2 separate regions of the Homo sapiens genome follow, and region 2 is linked to region 1. Evidence: promoter capture Hi-C in 16 types of primary human blood cells and fetal thymus (Javierre and others, 2016). All regions are on one chromosome and are shown on one strand. Each heading gives the region's core, a stretch centred on a gene start or on the middle of the fragment in contact. The rest is flanking DNA. Distances are from core to core; before and after follow the strand shown. Region 1 holds the start of DCBLD2 (discoidin, CUB and LCCL domain containing 2). Region 2 holds the start of PCNP (PEST proteolytic signal containing nuclear protein).

Region 1 (7,831 bases), core at 2,230-4,729:
CTGGGTTATGCATCTGGGTTGCATGGGTAAAATGGTCCTGGACAAGTATTGCTCCCACTGCCTCATAAGATGTCATTCCCCAAACAAACCAAGTCCCCAGAAGCAAGGATCATGACAAAGTTGTCTAGAGCAGCATGCAGAGAATAAGAAAGGTAATATAAACTAGAATTCCACTTTACCCGCATTGTCTTAGAAATGAATGCCTATTATATTCCTTTGGTGTGAGGTCCCAGGAGAAAATTTTGATCATTTCAGAGCAGCCTTCTGTCATTGTTTGGCAACTAAGTAGAGAGACAATAATCAGAAGAGAGAATATGGGTGCAACAGCATCAATCCTCTCCCACATCTGTGCTATATTTGTAATTTTCTATATACATAAAGCAATAGGGGGCACCACAAATGTTCTCTAGCCAGACTTCCAGACCCTGTCTTCCAAAGCGAAACTCCGGAAGCTGAGGCATAAAATAACACAGAAATAGTCAAATGGCATCAGTCACTAAGACCTTCTGATTTTGCTGCTTTAAATATAACTCCAACTTGCTCCCACCTCCCTCTCTTTTTCCCTGCCAGTGACCTAATTCAGAACCTCTTCACCTCTCTAGTCTCTACTTTTAACAACTTTAAAACACTAGACAGTAAGTAAAACAGTGATGAGAAATGTAAGTGCTCCTTCCTCTTGCTTTACACGTATGTAGTCGGGATCTTTTCCTGCTATATTAAAGGGGTAGGGGTTGCTAGAGACCAAATTTTGCCTCTTCCAGAAATGCTCCATAACTGTGCTAGTTCTTAGGTGAATTCTCTGCCTCTGCCACAGTTCTATGTAGTCAATAGAATGCCAGGCTAAGATTCACACTACCTTGCTCTGCCACCACATCTGTGACCTCAAGCTTCTCTTTCAATGGTCCTATGAAAGGAGTGATTCCACATGAAATAGGTTGTCTCAGGCACTACTACTAGAAATCTTATTTCATGACTGACTGCTTGCCACATTAGCACATCATGTCTGATAGGTTCAATTCTGAATTTATGATTTTTAACTTCTACTTCTTTATCCAACCAAACCAATTCTCCTTCTTGTACTCCTTACTGTGGGAAAGACATCACCTTCTACCAGAAACCTGGAGACTTCCTCAACTCCTTACACTCCACATAATCAGTCACCAAGTTTAAAAATATTCCCCTAGTTGGTCCCGCCTTCCCAAGCCCACTTTTAATGCACTAAAAACTCACCATCACTCCCTTTAACTGCAGACTGGCTCTCCCTGGCTTCCAGTCTTGCTCTTACACCAATGTATTCCTCACCCTACTGGCTGATTGGGGTTTTTACAATAAAAACCTGATAATGACCGGGCGCGATGGCTCACGCCGTTATCCCAGCACTTTGGGAGGCTGAGGCGGGTGGATCACCTGAGGTCGGGAGTTCGAGACCAGCCTGACCAACAATGGAGAAACCCCGGCTCTACTAAAAATACAAAATTAGCCGGGTGCGGTGGCACATGCCTGTAATCCCAGCTACTAGGGAGACTGAGGCAGGAGAATCGCTTGAACCCGGGAGGCAGAGGTTGCAGTGAGCCGAGATCATGCCATTGCACTCCAGCCTGGGCAACAAGAGCAAAACTCCATCTCAAAAAAAACAAAAACAAAAACAAAAACAAAAAAAAAACTGACAATGTCATTCTTTCTTAGAACCCTTTAGTTATTTTCCAGTGATACAAAATAAAATCTTGACTCTTAGCTTGCCTTACATCTTGCCCCTCCTAACTTTTCCAGACTAGTCTCCAGTTCCTCCCATTACGTCAGCAGTAGTCAATCCAGCTCCATCAACACCATTCCCTATTGAGCCTGTGACCCAGCCTATTTTGCCTCTGGCCTGAGATCACCTTTTTCACTTTAGTTTCTTATTCAAGACACTGGCATTTCAAACTGACGGGTTTTTTTGAACTCCGTTCACTGTGGTATTGTGGCACCAGTCCACACCTCTAACAGGGCACTAATAACAATAGGTTTGTTTACATGTCACCTCCTCCTCCAGAATGTAAGTTCTTCTCAGTAAACTTTTTATGCCCAATGCCCACAATGGCTTAGAGCATAATAGGGTTTCTTAGGCATTTAATAAATGTTAATTGAATAAATTTGGTTAAAGAGATTATTGTATAAGAAATATGCAGGGGAGTTGAAACATACGACCTCCAAAGTCCTTTCCAACTTAGACTTTCATTGAAGGATATCAGTCCCTTCCATGTTTTTGAATATCACATCTATGTATGACTATGTATACATATGTATATGTATACATGTATGGCTATGTATGACTCCCAGAGCCATAATTTCAAAGCTCTCAATCTGAGCTTTCGACTAAAATATCCATCTGCCTGTTACATAGCTTCACTTATTATCTAAGTTGGCATCTCAAATTCAATACGTCCAAAATTAACTTACTTTCCCACACAACTTGTTCCACCTTAGCAGTTTTTTGTATTTGCTAATGACACCATTGTCCTTTCAGGGACTGCTGTTAAAAACATCCTACATGGCCACTCTCTTCTAAAATAAATCACTGCGTAGACCTCTGCATTCCTCTTTCCTAAAATTCTTTTTGTCGTTCCATAGGCTTACAGTCTCCATCAAACTGCTTGTGACTCTAATTAGCACTTACTTCATTCTGACTTGCATGCTATATTTCCATCTCTGTTCCACATTTCAAGATTTCTGTAGATAGACAGCAGGTGCTCAACAACTCCTTGTAGAATGGCTGCATGAAGGTTGGGATGTTAGGTTTAAATTGCCTTTGCGGCACGGATCTTGTTTTACACTTTTTTGTCCCCCACCCCCCGCCATAAAAAGAGCAGAGAAAACAGGGAACACATATATTAAAAACTGAACACTGCATCTATTATTCTAACTCGGAGCTGTTGCAACAACTGGCGGCAGTTTTAACAAAACAAGCCACGCTCTGCCATTAAAAAAAAAAAAAAAGTCCCTTAGACTCAGCTCCCAGCTAAAACAACCCAGGATCCAGGTTTCCCACCCCCTTCCAGTGGTCTGATGTGCGTCGGAGGAGCGAGGAGAAAGGAGCAAGGAGCAAGCTGGGCCTGAGGAGCAGGGAGCGCGGGATGGGGGACGTCCCGGAAGTCACTGACGAGCTGGCTGCCGCCTCTGCGGGATCAGTTTGGGCTGAGGGCCCAACAATAACAGGCGCCCGGGCCGGGCGGGGGCCGCGGGGATCCGAAGCTGGAGGGCGGGACCTGGATTGGAGGAGGCGGGTGGGACGCCTCCAAAGGCCGAAGGGGATTGGAAGAGGGAGGTAAGGGGCGGTGGAGCTCGAGGAATGGGCCGGAGAACTAGCGGGTCGAGCGAGGAGCGAGCATGCTGATTGGGTTTCGCGGAAGGAGACGGACCAGAGCTGGCCGAGGATTGGCCGCGGTGCCTAGGGGGCGTGGCCGGCGCGCGCGAGAGGGAGCGCGAGGGAGCTGGCTGCGGGCCTGCCTGCCAGCTAGCCGGAGCCGCGGGTGAGCGCGGCGAGCGGCGACCCTGGTGAGGAGCGCGGCGCGGGAGGCACGTTCCTTAGCTCCGCCGCGGCCGTCCTCCGCGGCTCGAGGACTCCGCTTCCTTCCCTCCCCTCCCCTGCGCTCCGGCCTGGGGTCTCGGCGCGGGGAGCGGAGGGAAGGGACGAAGGAGGAGTAGGTGAAAGCGGGGTGAGGGGCGGAAGGGTCCCGGCGCGGGGTGAGGCGAGGGCTGCCTCTTGTTCTCCCGCCGCTGCCGCCGTCTCCTGGTCGGGTGCCGCGGCCAGAGGCGCGCGGGGCTGCCGAGGCACCCGCACTATGCAGGCAGACTGCCGGCCGCCGCGATGGCGAGCCGGGCGGTGGTGAGAGCCAGGCGCTGCCCGCAGTGTCCCCAAGTCCGGGCCGCGGCCGCCGCCCCCGCCTGGGCCGCGCTCCCCCTCTCCCGCTCCCTCCCTCCCTGCTCCAACTCCTCCTCCTTCTCCATGCCTCTGTTCCTCCTGCTCTTACTTGTCCTGCTCCTGCTGCTCGAGGACGCTGGAGCCCAGCAAGGTGAGTGGTCCCAGGGGAGTGAGCGGCGGGGGAACCTCCGTCGGGGCTGCGGGTCTCTTGGCCCCTGAACAAATCTGCAGACGCTGCAGGGAGGCGCGGTGCGCTTTCGTGCGTGGCCGGACCTGGCTGGGTACTCACGGGGTTGAGTTGCAAAGGCAAGGTCTTGCCCGTCTGTCCCCCAAGTTGGCGCGGCTTTACTTTTTGGCAAGGCCATTTATTTTTCTGAAAGGGGGACGTGAGACCCTGCTATGAAAGCCTCGTTGATATTAGGTCCTTCTGGGGAAAATTTTGGGGAGGAAAAAGAACCTTTGGAGGTAATGACCCCTAAAGTTAAGCTGCACGGATGGATGGACACTGTAGGAAGGCAGGTTAATTAAATAGCATCTTAAGCCTATTAAAGGTAAGTGGTGGTAATTATGATCCTTTGTGAAAGAGCCCGGGTTCTGAAGCGAATGGAATAGTTTCTGCTTATCTCTGAGTCTTGGATTCAGAACATGTTCTTTACAATCCATCATTGAGGCTGGTGGTCTAGACTGCCTTGGTCAAACACTGGGTCTGACCCAACGCTATGCTAATTTGCCCAAGTGAAGCTCTCCACATTAAAAAGGTAAGCCTTTCCAGAAAGTGACAAAACTTTTTTTTTTTTCCACCTACAATCCTTGAAAAACCTGTTCCAGAAACAGGCAAAACTGTTTATTAAATACTTATCATAATGGAAGGAGAATGCAGGGTGATTTCTTTTCCCCTTTAGTACTGTTTTCCCGTAGTGTACCACACTTTTTGAATCAGTTTGGCATCAGTTTTTGAAAAGATATTTCCATTGCATTTTCCATTTTATTGCAGTGGGAAGGATAAGGATTGGATTGTTACTTATTGCTAGGAAGAGAGTTTTTTAAAAAGAAAATTGTTCTCTGCCTTTAAGCCCAGCTTTATGTTGCTCTCATGGTTTTCAGTGAAGTATGGAATCATGGCCTGTCATTAAGAAGATGCCGAACCTTGACAGGCATGTGGAAATATAATCTCTGTAACTATAAGGAAAAAATGTATTTGGCAAACTGACCCCTTACATCTAGACACGTTTCTATATAGAGTAACTCAAAATTTAGATGCTTAGCATTTAGGTTTTAGTTAGATCGTCTTCTAAAATTACTGAACATCATCATCATTTAATATATTAAAGTGTGAAATCCTTCTTTCCACTGTAGAGATGTATTTCCCTCCTGGTAGGGGGGAAAACAGGCTTATATATGGCTAACACTTAGGGCTTACTTTGTGGCTGGAACAACTGGACTAAGTGGTTTGGGTTTATTAACTCCTTGAATCTTCACTACAATCAGCTGAGATAGTTATTGTTATCCCAGTTCAAACGTAAGGACATTGAGACACAAAGAATATAAGGTACCTTGATGCAGGAGGGCATATTACTCCATAGGCAGAGTACTCTGCTTTGCTTGTTTCTGGATCTGATAGTGTTTGTATCATGTTATTAAAAAAAATCTTGGAACAGTATAGAATCAGTTACATGTCTACCTTCCAAATGAGGGATTGCCTTGTTTTTAGAAAAGGCCAGTCTACCGGGCGCGGTGGCTCACACCTGTAATCCGAGCACTTTGGGAGGCTGAGGCGGGCAGATCACGAGGTCAGGAGATCGAGACCATCCTGACCAACATGGTGAAACCCCGTCTCTCCTAAAATACAAAAAATTAGCCGGGCATGGTGGCACATGCCTGTAGTCCCAGGTACTCAGGAGGCTGAGGCAGGGGAATCGCTTGAACCCGGGAGGCGGAGGTTGCAGCGATCGCGCCACTGCACTCCAGCCTGGCGACAGAGCGAGACTGTCTCAAAAAAAAAAAAAAAAAAAGAAAAAGAAATAGCCAGTCTAATCAGACAAGCAACATTACTTCATTTTTTAAGGTTTAATATAATTTTTTTTTACCAGAACATTTTAACAAATACATTTCTCTTTAACAGTGTCATCTTATGTAAACATCAACATAAATAGAAATGATTCTGATAATTAAAAGACTTTTTTTTTTTTTAGTTCTTCTAAATTGCTTGGGTAAATTTTGCTAAATCATTTAATATTTAATCTCTTTGTACCTCAGTTTTCTACATCATTAAGGTGAGCATGCATACCTATCTCATAGCTTAATATAAATGAAATGATAGTATGCAGGAATTTTGCAAAGGGAAAAGCTTAAAATAGCTATAAATGATTATTACTAATCTCGATCTTACTAAGTTGATAAATTAAGAGCTAATTAGGTATACATCATCTGAAAACTCACAATTATTTGAGATTTGAATTTTCTCATTTTTAAAAATTAAATTTTTTACTCAAAGGACCCTAAAGCAGCCCGTGGTGGAATTCCTTTTAAGCCAGTCTTCCCAGTCTAACAGATGTTCTTTAGGGTCTACTGATATTCCCTCACATAACCTGAAAAGAAGTCTGTTTAAAACACCTTTAGAATTTTTAATGGGATTTGTACATGTTGTAATGTTCAGCTACAAGGTAGAGTTTTTACTCTATAAGAAGTCTTAAGACTGGAAGGAAATAAACTGTTGACAGTTGTTGTCTTTTGGTGGTAAAATTGTGGGACATTTCTTTATACTTTTCTAAATTTTCTGTAATTCGCATATAGTCAGAATAAAAATTAAACTGCAAAAAAGGTTTCTTTGATAGATTTTTTTTCTTTATTTGACAACTGAAGGTAGAAATGCATCTAGTATGGAGAGGTAGAAATGTGCTTCAGTGTCTTTTTTCTTTCTGACATCATTTTGAAATAGCAGAATATATTACCTTCATTCCAATTAATGTCATACATAGCTATTCCTCAATAGATTTTCTGTTCACAATGACCTTTCTTTTTATTTGGCTCCGAATAAAATGTATCATTAGTTTGAAAACTTACCGACTTTTCACAACAGATGTATTTTAACCAGTTCTGTTTCACTTATAAATTTATAAATATATTCTGTTTACCTCTATTTATTATGTTGATGTTTCACATATGGCTTGTATTTGTGTAGAGTTCTAAGTTGGATATCAAGAAGTTGGTCTTCGAAATCTTTTTTATTGAAGACTTTTTTTCTGTAAAATGTACCTCTCAAAAAAATTAAATTGGTGAAACTTATGCTGGTAGCATATTTGCTATTGTATTAAATTTATTGGAAGTTGATGGTTTACTATGATTTTAGGTCTCTGGTTTCCATTATGACTGTAGGAATTTGGGTTACTTCATATCAGGAGCTCAGCTTCCTCATTTGTATCCTGGAAGGCTTGCCTACTTTCTTGGTTAGAATGTAATTTGAACATGGTAAAATATCAGGGAATTAATTCTTAAAAACCATTAAGCCTGATTTGTTTGGGCCTATTAATATATAACATGTTGTGAAGATATTAGTTTTTCTTTGCTAATTTAATCTGTGAAACAAATCAGGTTCATTCTTAAAAAGGATGTTTCAGTTATTTGAACATATTTGGAACCAATATGTGAAAAAGTTTATATTCTGTCAAGGAATGCCTTTATTTGCTTGTGATGCAGGGAAATATTTTTGAACAATATTTGTGAGTTGCCAGAAAATAAAAACTTATTTCTCTCTGCAAATAAACATTTGTAATTATTTTTCACATTGACATTAGGTTAATTTAGAAATTTCCATTGTCTTTTCTTTGTCTGATAAAACATTGGGGCTCTTATCCAGTTTTGTTCAGAAGCAAATAAATCAAAGCATCCTTTTCTGCTATATTTCTAATTAATTTTACAAAATGAAAATTA
Region 2 (7,831 bases), core at 2,255-4,754, 2.7 Mb before region 1:
TAAACCAGAGGGCAGGCAAAGGCATTCCTCTTCCCCTCCATCACCTCGGCCCATCCTGTCACAGGGTCAATATTAAACTTGGAAGTAAAGGAAAGAGAGCAGGCCGGAGTTGTCCACCTCCTCAGTGAAAAGGGAGCAGCAAGCGTAATTAACTCCTGCGTGTAACTGAGAGGCCGGCACCGTCAGAAACTCAGCCTGCGGCCAGTTCCCGCGGCAACTACTCGGTGGCTCGCACTGTGTGTATGTTATGTCTCATGAGCGTCTCCGGTGTGTGTGTTTTGTGTGATGTGCGTCTCCGGTGTGGCGGTAGCGGCTCCTGCACCGCCGCTCCTGGTCCCACCCCGAGTTCGGTCTCCCTTTCTGGCGCCCATCTCCCTTCTCCTCGGAATCAGGGCCTCCGCTGGGGCCAGGAGGTGACGAACAGTGGCCGGCTCTCCCCAGGCAAGGAGGCGATGTAGGCCCGGAGCCCAGAGGGCCGCATCGGGCGTGCCCGAGGCAGGTCTGGGCCCAACACCTGGCCGGGTGAGGTCCAGATCCGCCCATTCTCGCCCCACCCCACTCCCCCCACCCTGGGAGCTCAAAGAAAGGCCCGGAGCATCCCACGCTGCCCACGACGCTGGGGTTGTGTTCACCTCCGGCGGCTCCAGCTCGCTGCGACTTTTCAGGCTTCTCGTCTCCCGCCTTCCCGTCCGCCATTTTCCCCGCCGCGGCCTCCCCTGCAGCCACGCCAAGGACGTCACGACCCCGCCCAACAACCATCGAGTTTTTGGGGCCAGCCGGCGTGGTGGCAGCCTAGAGCGGTCCCGAGGAATGAAAAGAGGCCGCCTTCGGAAGCGGAAGTGGATGTGATGTCATCGAGTAGCCGCCTCGGAAGGAAGAGCTGGGAAGGTTGGGCGGTCTAAGAGTGCTGGCTAGGCACTTTATTAGAGGGCAGTCAGGTCTTCATGGTCTAGCGACAGGTCCGGAGAAGTGAGGGGAAATGGAGCATCTCCCTGGAAACGCTGGGATCTTAGAAGGTTTCTGCATACCCAGATGTGGTTGCAGCTGAGGCTGAGAGTGTCTTCCGTTCCGGCCTTGCTGGATAACGCATGCCTGCCAACTCTATGTAAACAAAAAGCCTGCATTCTTTTTCCCTAAAGGGGAAATCAGTGTTTATCTAGCGCCCCCTAGCTTCAGACGCCTTTCATACACTCGTTTAATCACGGCGATTGTCCAAATATAGAATTCTCCTCTCAATTACCTGTAAGAGTTGAGGTCAGAGAGAGTAATTTGTCTAAGTCACGTAGCCAACTGTAAAGTTACTTTTTGTATAGTCTGCTTCTACCAAGTTGAGAAACTACTATGTCAAGTTAAGACTGCAGTAATTTCTGCCTTAATAAGAAACCTTTAGTGGATTCCTACAGTCTGCATTCTGAAGTCCGTGAGTTACATTAGGCCCTAGCCTACCTTTTCGGCTTCATCTTCCCCCTTTCTCAGTATTTATCCAGCCCTCCTAGCCAAATGGGGTCTATTACTTGCTTAGGGAACTGGAGTTTCTGGGTTTGTCTTACCATATATAGTTAGAGAAAGTCTTAGGAGTCAGAACTTGGATTTGAATCTGTTTTGCCCTTTCCTGCTTGAGTAACCTTGAGACTTGCTTACTGCCTACAGAGCTACCTTTTCTTCTCTATAAAAGAGCAATAATAATAGTACCTCCTCAAAGAGTGGTAATAGGGATCAAATGAGATCATCTTTGTATACCATTATTTGGTCACTTCATACTTCCCTCAGTTTGTGTGTGTGTGTGTGTGTGTGTGTGTTTTAAGTGTTGTCTCTCTGAATGGCTCAAAAGTTCCTTGACAACAGAGACCAGTTTTTAAAAACTGTGTACTGTGCGTTTCATATATGAATATAAAAAGTGTTCAATATTTGCGGATGGATTACTTCTCGGGCTTCAAGTCCAGGGAGTGGAGAAAGAATGAAGAAATTATCAAAGTGTGTTTCCCATGACAGAAGCAGGGCAGTGTGGTGGTGATTTTGTGATCTAGGTTGAAGTCCCTGATCCATCATTTATCATATATGTAAAAGTAACCAGCAAACTATCTTACAGGTACTTAATTCATGTTTGTTTCATTTTCCTTGTGATCTTTTCAAGGTAATCATTGAGACTCTCGTTTCTATCATTTTAAAAATGGAGATATACACGAAGATTTTTATTTGAGATTATGTATTTACAGATGCTTGTAATTTTTTATGGGGGGTGGAATGGAGTCTCTCATTCTGTCACCCAGGCTGGAGTGCAATGGCATGGTCTTGGCTCACTGCAACCTCCGCCTCCTGGGTTCAAGCGATTCTCCTGCCTCAGCCTCTCGAGTAGCTGGGACAACAGGCGCGTGCCACCACACCCGGCTAATGTTTGTATTTTTAGTAGAGACGGGGTTTCACTATGTTGGCCAGGCTGGTCTCGAACTCCTGACTTTGTGATCCGCCCACCTTAGCCTCCCTAAGTGCTGGGATTACAGGCGTGAGCCACCGTGCCCGGCCGATGCTTGTAATTTTTAAGTGAAGAAGATAAAGCTCAGAGAAGTCACATACCTATTTAGGAGCGGATCCAGTTCCCATATACCACACTGCAGAAGTTAAGGATGCATGTGCAGGACTAGGTATGAAAGGAAAAAAACGAAACAAAAAAAGGATGAAGATAGTAATCCATTCACCTTTCAGTTCTGTGAGTTTCATGAGGTGTGCCTGTCTTGTTCACCACTGTTTCCCCAGCACCTGGATTATACTAGTCTGGATAAATATCTATTGAAGAAATTAATGCAAGCTTCAGTAACCTCCTACAAACGGGTTAGGAAATGGAAAGGTAGTGTAGTATGAAGGGGTGGAAAGGGGGTGATCACTTTCCTCCCCATCAAAAGAGTCATGACAACATGCTTGTTAATAAAAGACAGGTTAACAAGAGAAAATTAATGTGCATAAGCATGGGAATGATACAACAAAATAAGAAAACTAAAAAAAGGGTCAGATGGTTGAAGTTTAATACTTTTCATAGGGGAGAGAGAGGTGGGGGGGCTACAGGCAATTTTAGAGGAGTAGTAAATGATTTTAGGAGAGATTAATGCAGAAATTCACTTGTAAATTATTCTCTTTGTAAACCAAGTGAAACTAGAGAACCAATAATAATTCGAAGGCCAGTCGTGGTGACTCACTCCCATAATCCCAGCTACTAGGGAGGCTGAGATAGAAGGATCACTTGAGCCCCGGAGGCAAGGTTGCAGTGAGCCAAGATCTCGCCACTGCACTCCAACCTGGGTGACAGAGTGAGACCCTGTCTCAAAAACAAAAAACAGTAGTTTGAGGCAAAGTTTGGGCTCTAAGTGTGGTGGTTAATTTTCAGTCTCTTCCTCTATGATGTGAGTTTTGTTTTTTTATGAGACCAGGTCGCACTGTGTTGCCCAGGCTGGAGTGTGGTGGCTATTCACAGGCATGATGATAGCACACTACAGCCTCAAACTCCTGGCCTCAAGAATCCTCCCATCTGAGACTCACAGGTAGCTGGGACTACATGTGTGCACCACTGTATCTGGCTTTGTGATATGTTTTAATTTCTTCTGGTTAATGAAATTTCAGGGAGGAAGCAGATAGAAAGCAATTGTGTTCTTTGATGTGTGTGGTTTCTAGGTAGATAAGAAACTTCAAAGAACAGTCTTATCCCGTGTTTTGGGGGAGGCAGAGGATTGAGAGGCAGGAGGTGGGGTGGGGAGATCAGAGAAACCTTGCGGCTGCTTCTCTAGTTCAGCATGTCAAAGCACCAAATTTTGGGGTACCGTTTTCTGACAATGAATAGGCAATGTAGTCCAAGGCAAAGAGCATTAGTTTTGCACCACACAAAAACTCGACTTAAATTCTAATTCTGCATTTTGCTAATTCTGTGAGTTTGTACTGGATAACAATGTTATGGAATATGTTATAACTATACAAATGGAATAATACATATAGGGTTACTGAGGGCATTGGGATAATAAAGGTTAAATCTATAATATGCTGCCTGGCCATGGTGAGAGCTTGCTTCATAGTAGCTATGGATTATAACCTCTAGTGAGCTATTTAAGTGGTTTAAAAGGCTGGAAATGGAAGGTAATATGAGCAATTATTATTTTAATTTAGATGTGTAATTTGTGAGGCGACAACTATAATATCTAACATTTATTCAAGCTTACTATACACCAAGCATTGTTGCAGGTATTCTACATGAAATTCAGTACATTAAATCATTACAACCCTGTGAATTAAGTGCTACTGTTACTCCCATTTTTATGGAAGAGGGAATTTGGGCACGGAAAAGATAAGTAAGAAGTGGAGCTGAACTTGAAATTCAGGCCAAGAGCTACCAAAAAAAAAAAAAAAAAAATTAGAGTGGAGAAGAAAAGTGGCTAATCTTGATTTCACTAACCTTAAGTAGGTTCTTTTTTTTGTTTTGTTTTTGTTTTTGTTTTGAGACAGGATCTCGTTCTGTTGCCCAGGTTAGAGTACAGTGGCTCATAGCTCACTGCAGCCTTGAACTCCTGGGCTGAAGTGATCCTCCTGCCTTAGCCTCCCAAAATTCTCGGATTACAGGCATGAGCCATTAAGTAGGTTCTTAATGTAGCCTTATAATTCTATTACATGTCCTCAGACTATTCTCAATTTCAGTGTACATCAGAATCACCTGAAGGACATGTTAAAACAGATTGCTGGGCCCCATTGCCAGTTTCTGATTCAGTTGACTCAATGGCTGGAGCCCTAAAATTTGCATTTCTAACTAGTTCCCAAGTAATGCTGATGCTGCTCGTTGGGGAACCACACTTTGAGAACCACTGCCCTAATTCACTCACTTTCCTATACTATTTCATGTTTTGTTGGCTCTCCAAAAATGTCCATTACGTCCTCCCACTTGGGATGATTTTGCTTTTTATTTTCAGTGAGAAAATAATAGTAATCAAACAGAACTTCTATATATTCTCAACCATATCTGAGGTGTGGTACCTGCATTTATACCTATATACTATGTGTTCTGTTACTTATGAAGTGGAGCCTGTCCTTGTTTACACACATCACTATTGTTCCATCCGATTTTTCTTTCTACTATTGAAACATTCCCAACATCATACATACATGCTTTTATGTCTCCTATCTTAGTAAAAGACTCTTCTCTTGATCTCATATCTTCCTGTAGCTCCTCATTCCTATTTTCCTTCATATAGAAACTTTGAAAAGATTGTTCATACTCTGTCTCCTATATCTCTGTCCATTCTTTTTTTTATCTTTTGAGACAGGGTCTTGCTCTGTTACCCAACCTGGAATGCAATGACATGATCTTGGCTCACTGCAACCTCCACATCACACGCTCAAACGATCCTCCTGGCTTAGCCCGCCAAGTAGCTGGGACTAAAGGTGAACACCACCATCCCTGGCTAAGTTTTGTAGAGACAGGGTTTCACAATGTTGCCCAGGCTGGTCTCAAACTCCTGGACTCAAGGGATCCACCTGCCTTGGCCTCCCAAAGTACTGGGAGTACAGGTATGAGCCACCACACCTAGTCCCGTCCCTTCTTTTCGTTTTTGTTTTTTTTGAGACGGAGTCTTGCTCTGTCACTCAGGCTGGAGTATAGTGGCACAGTCTCGGCTCACTGCAACCCCCGCCTCCTGGCTTCAAGCAGTTCTTCTGTCTCAGTCTCCTGAGTAGCTGGGATTACAGGCCTGTGCCACAACACCTGGCTAATTTTAATTTTTGTATTTTTAGTAGAGCTGGGGTTTCACCATGTTGGCCAGGCTGGTCTCAAACTCCTGACCTTTGAGCCACCGTGCTCCGCCTGTCCATTTCCTTTTTTTTTTTTTTTTTTTTGAGGAGTTTTGCTCTTATTGCCTAGGCTGGAGTGCAATGGTGTGATCTCGGCTCACCGCAACCTCCACCTCCAGGGTTCAAGCGATTCTCCTGCCTCAGCCTCCCAAGTAGCTGGGATTACAGACATGCACCACCATGCCCGGCTAATTTTTTTTGTATTTTTAGTAGAGATGGTGTTTCTCCATGTTCGTCAGGGTAGTCTCGAACTTCCGACCTCAGGTGATCTGCCTGCCTCGGCCTCCCAAAGTGCTGGGATTACAGGCCTGAGCCACCACACCCGGCCTTGTCCATTCTCTTTTAAACCTACTCCAGTTGGCTTTCTTTTCAATCCTCTATTGAAATTGCTGTTGTCAAGATAATCAGCAATGTCCTCATTCCTACATTCAGTGGTCAGCTCTCAGACTTCATCTTACCTGATCTGCAGCATGAAACACTTTTTTTCATTTTGCCTCCAGGACATTTTCTCTCTTTTCTTACTGGTTGCTCTACCTCAGTCTTACTTGCTGGGTTCTTCTCATCTCTCACACCTCTAAATGTTGGAGTACCTTAGGGCTCAGACATCTGATATCTTTATCCACACAGACTCCCTAGATGGCCTCAACTAGTCTGGAGCATTTAACTAATTACATTATTAACATCTCCAGCCAGACCTTGTCTCTGAACTCCAGGCTCATATATCCAACTGACCACTTGATATCTCCACTTGGACATCTAATAGGCAACTGTAAAATGTCCCAAAGTTAACTTTGGATTACCTGCCCCCTCAAAGCTTCTGCATTTCGGTAAATAGTAACAAGTCCTTCCAGTTTCTCTAGTCAACAATCTTGAAGTCTTCCCTAAATTTTCTCTCTTACTAAACACATTCAGATCTGACTGTGTCTCACTACCTACTCTGTTACCACCCTCCTACAACCTACTATTATCTCTCACTTTTGTTACTGCAATAGCCTCCTAACTGGTCTCTCTCATAATCTATTCTCGACATAGCCAAAGTCATCATTTTAAACTGAATCCAATTTGGGGTGGGGTGGGGCAGGTGGGAGGAGAAGAAGACAAGAGGAAGATCCCCAAATGGGGCGGTGGTAGCAAGTGGGCAAGAAAAGACAACAAGAATCAGAGACAGAGGAAGAAAAGAAATCATCCAAGGAGGGGAGGGAAAAAAAAAATCACCCATCTGAGATCTATATCTGGGCTGGAGGAAAAAGTTTGTTACGTGTTTTCACAAAGAATAAATATACAAAACCATGGGGGTGGGGGGTGGAGAATGAGTCAGATCCTCTGATCCTCTGGTAAAAACCAAAGTTCTTACGGTGGCTTAAGATGCCTTACTTGACAGACCTAGCTACTCCTCTGACCTGATCTTCAGCTCTTTTTACTCATTTTGCTTCAGGCGCACCAGCCTTATTGGACCTTGAACCCTCTCTCAAGGGCTTCTGACACTTGTTCCTTTTGCTTGGAATTCCCTTCCCTCATATCTTCATAGCTTACTCTCACTTCAAGTCTGTGGAGATGTCACCTTGTCTGTCTTTGGGCAAATTAAGAAAGGAATACCTCCTTAGTGGATGCAGTCTTTTAAGCACATGGCCTAAAGGCAGACAGTCTTTGTATGAAGAAATGGCGTCTCTTCCTTCTAGCAAATGCAACCCTGCAACAGGGCATCATTCGGGGTTCTAAAATTCCAGCTACTTGGGAAACTGAGGCAGGAGGCTTACTTGAGCCCAGGAGATTGTGGCTGCAGTGAGCCATGATCACACCACTGCACTCCAGCCTGGTTTACAAGGTGAGACTCCATCACAAAAAAAGAAACAGAAAGAAAAGAAATGCATTGGACGTTTATGCCAATTTCCAATTCAGAAATTGGGAATAGTTGCCTATATCATTCCTATTTCCCATGTTTTCAAAAACTTTATTTTTAATTTCTCAGACAGGGTCTCTCTCTGTTGCCCAGGCTATAGCACAGCAGCAC

Evidence for each region. Contacts are between HindIII fragments. The CHiCAGO score rates a contact against its expected background, and 5 or more counts as called.
Region 2: a contact is called between a fragment that was not itself captured here and the fragment with the promoter of DCBLD2 in region 1, in 1 of 17 cell types (fetal thymus). The highest score is 5.0, in fetal thymus.

Annotation. Positions count from the first base shown.
Region 1 is chr3:98,897,343-98,905,173 of GRCh38, reverse strand. DCBLD2 (discoidin, CUB and LCCL domain containing 2) reads left to right here and starts at 3,479. Exons shown (of 16, transcript NM_080927.4): 1 at 3,479-4,052. The coding sequence starts at 3,848. It overlaps LOC105374002 (a long non-coding RNA gene), which reads right to left and starts at 3,160. Exons shown (of 2, transcript NR_189121.1): 1 at 2,657-3,160; 2 at 1-281. RefSeq lists silencers at 3,161-3,210, 3,351-4,040 and enhancers at 3,148-3,863, 3,864-4,580. The HindIII fragment of the contact is 5,361 bases long and covers 890-6,250 here.
Region 2 is chr3:101,567,081-101,574,911 of GRCh38, reverse strand. It overlaps PCNP (PEST proteolytic signal containing nuclear protein), which reads right to left and starts at 732. Exons shown (of 5, transcript NM_020357.3): 1 at 633-732. The coding sequence starts at 696. RefSeq lists enhancers at 213-372, 393-552, 633-762, 863-1,132, 576-1,521. The HindIII fragment of the contact is 1,391 bases long and covers 2,809-4,199 here.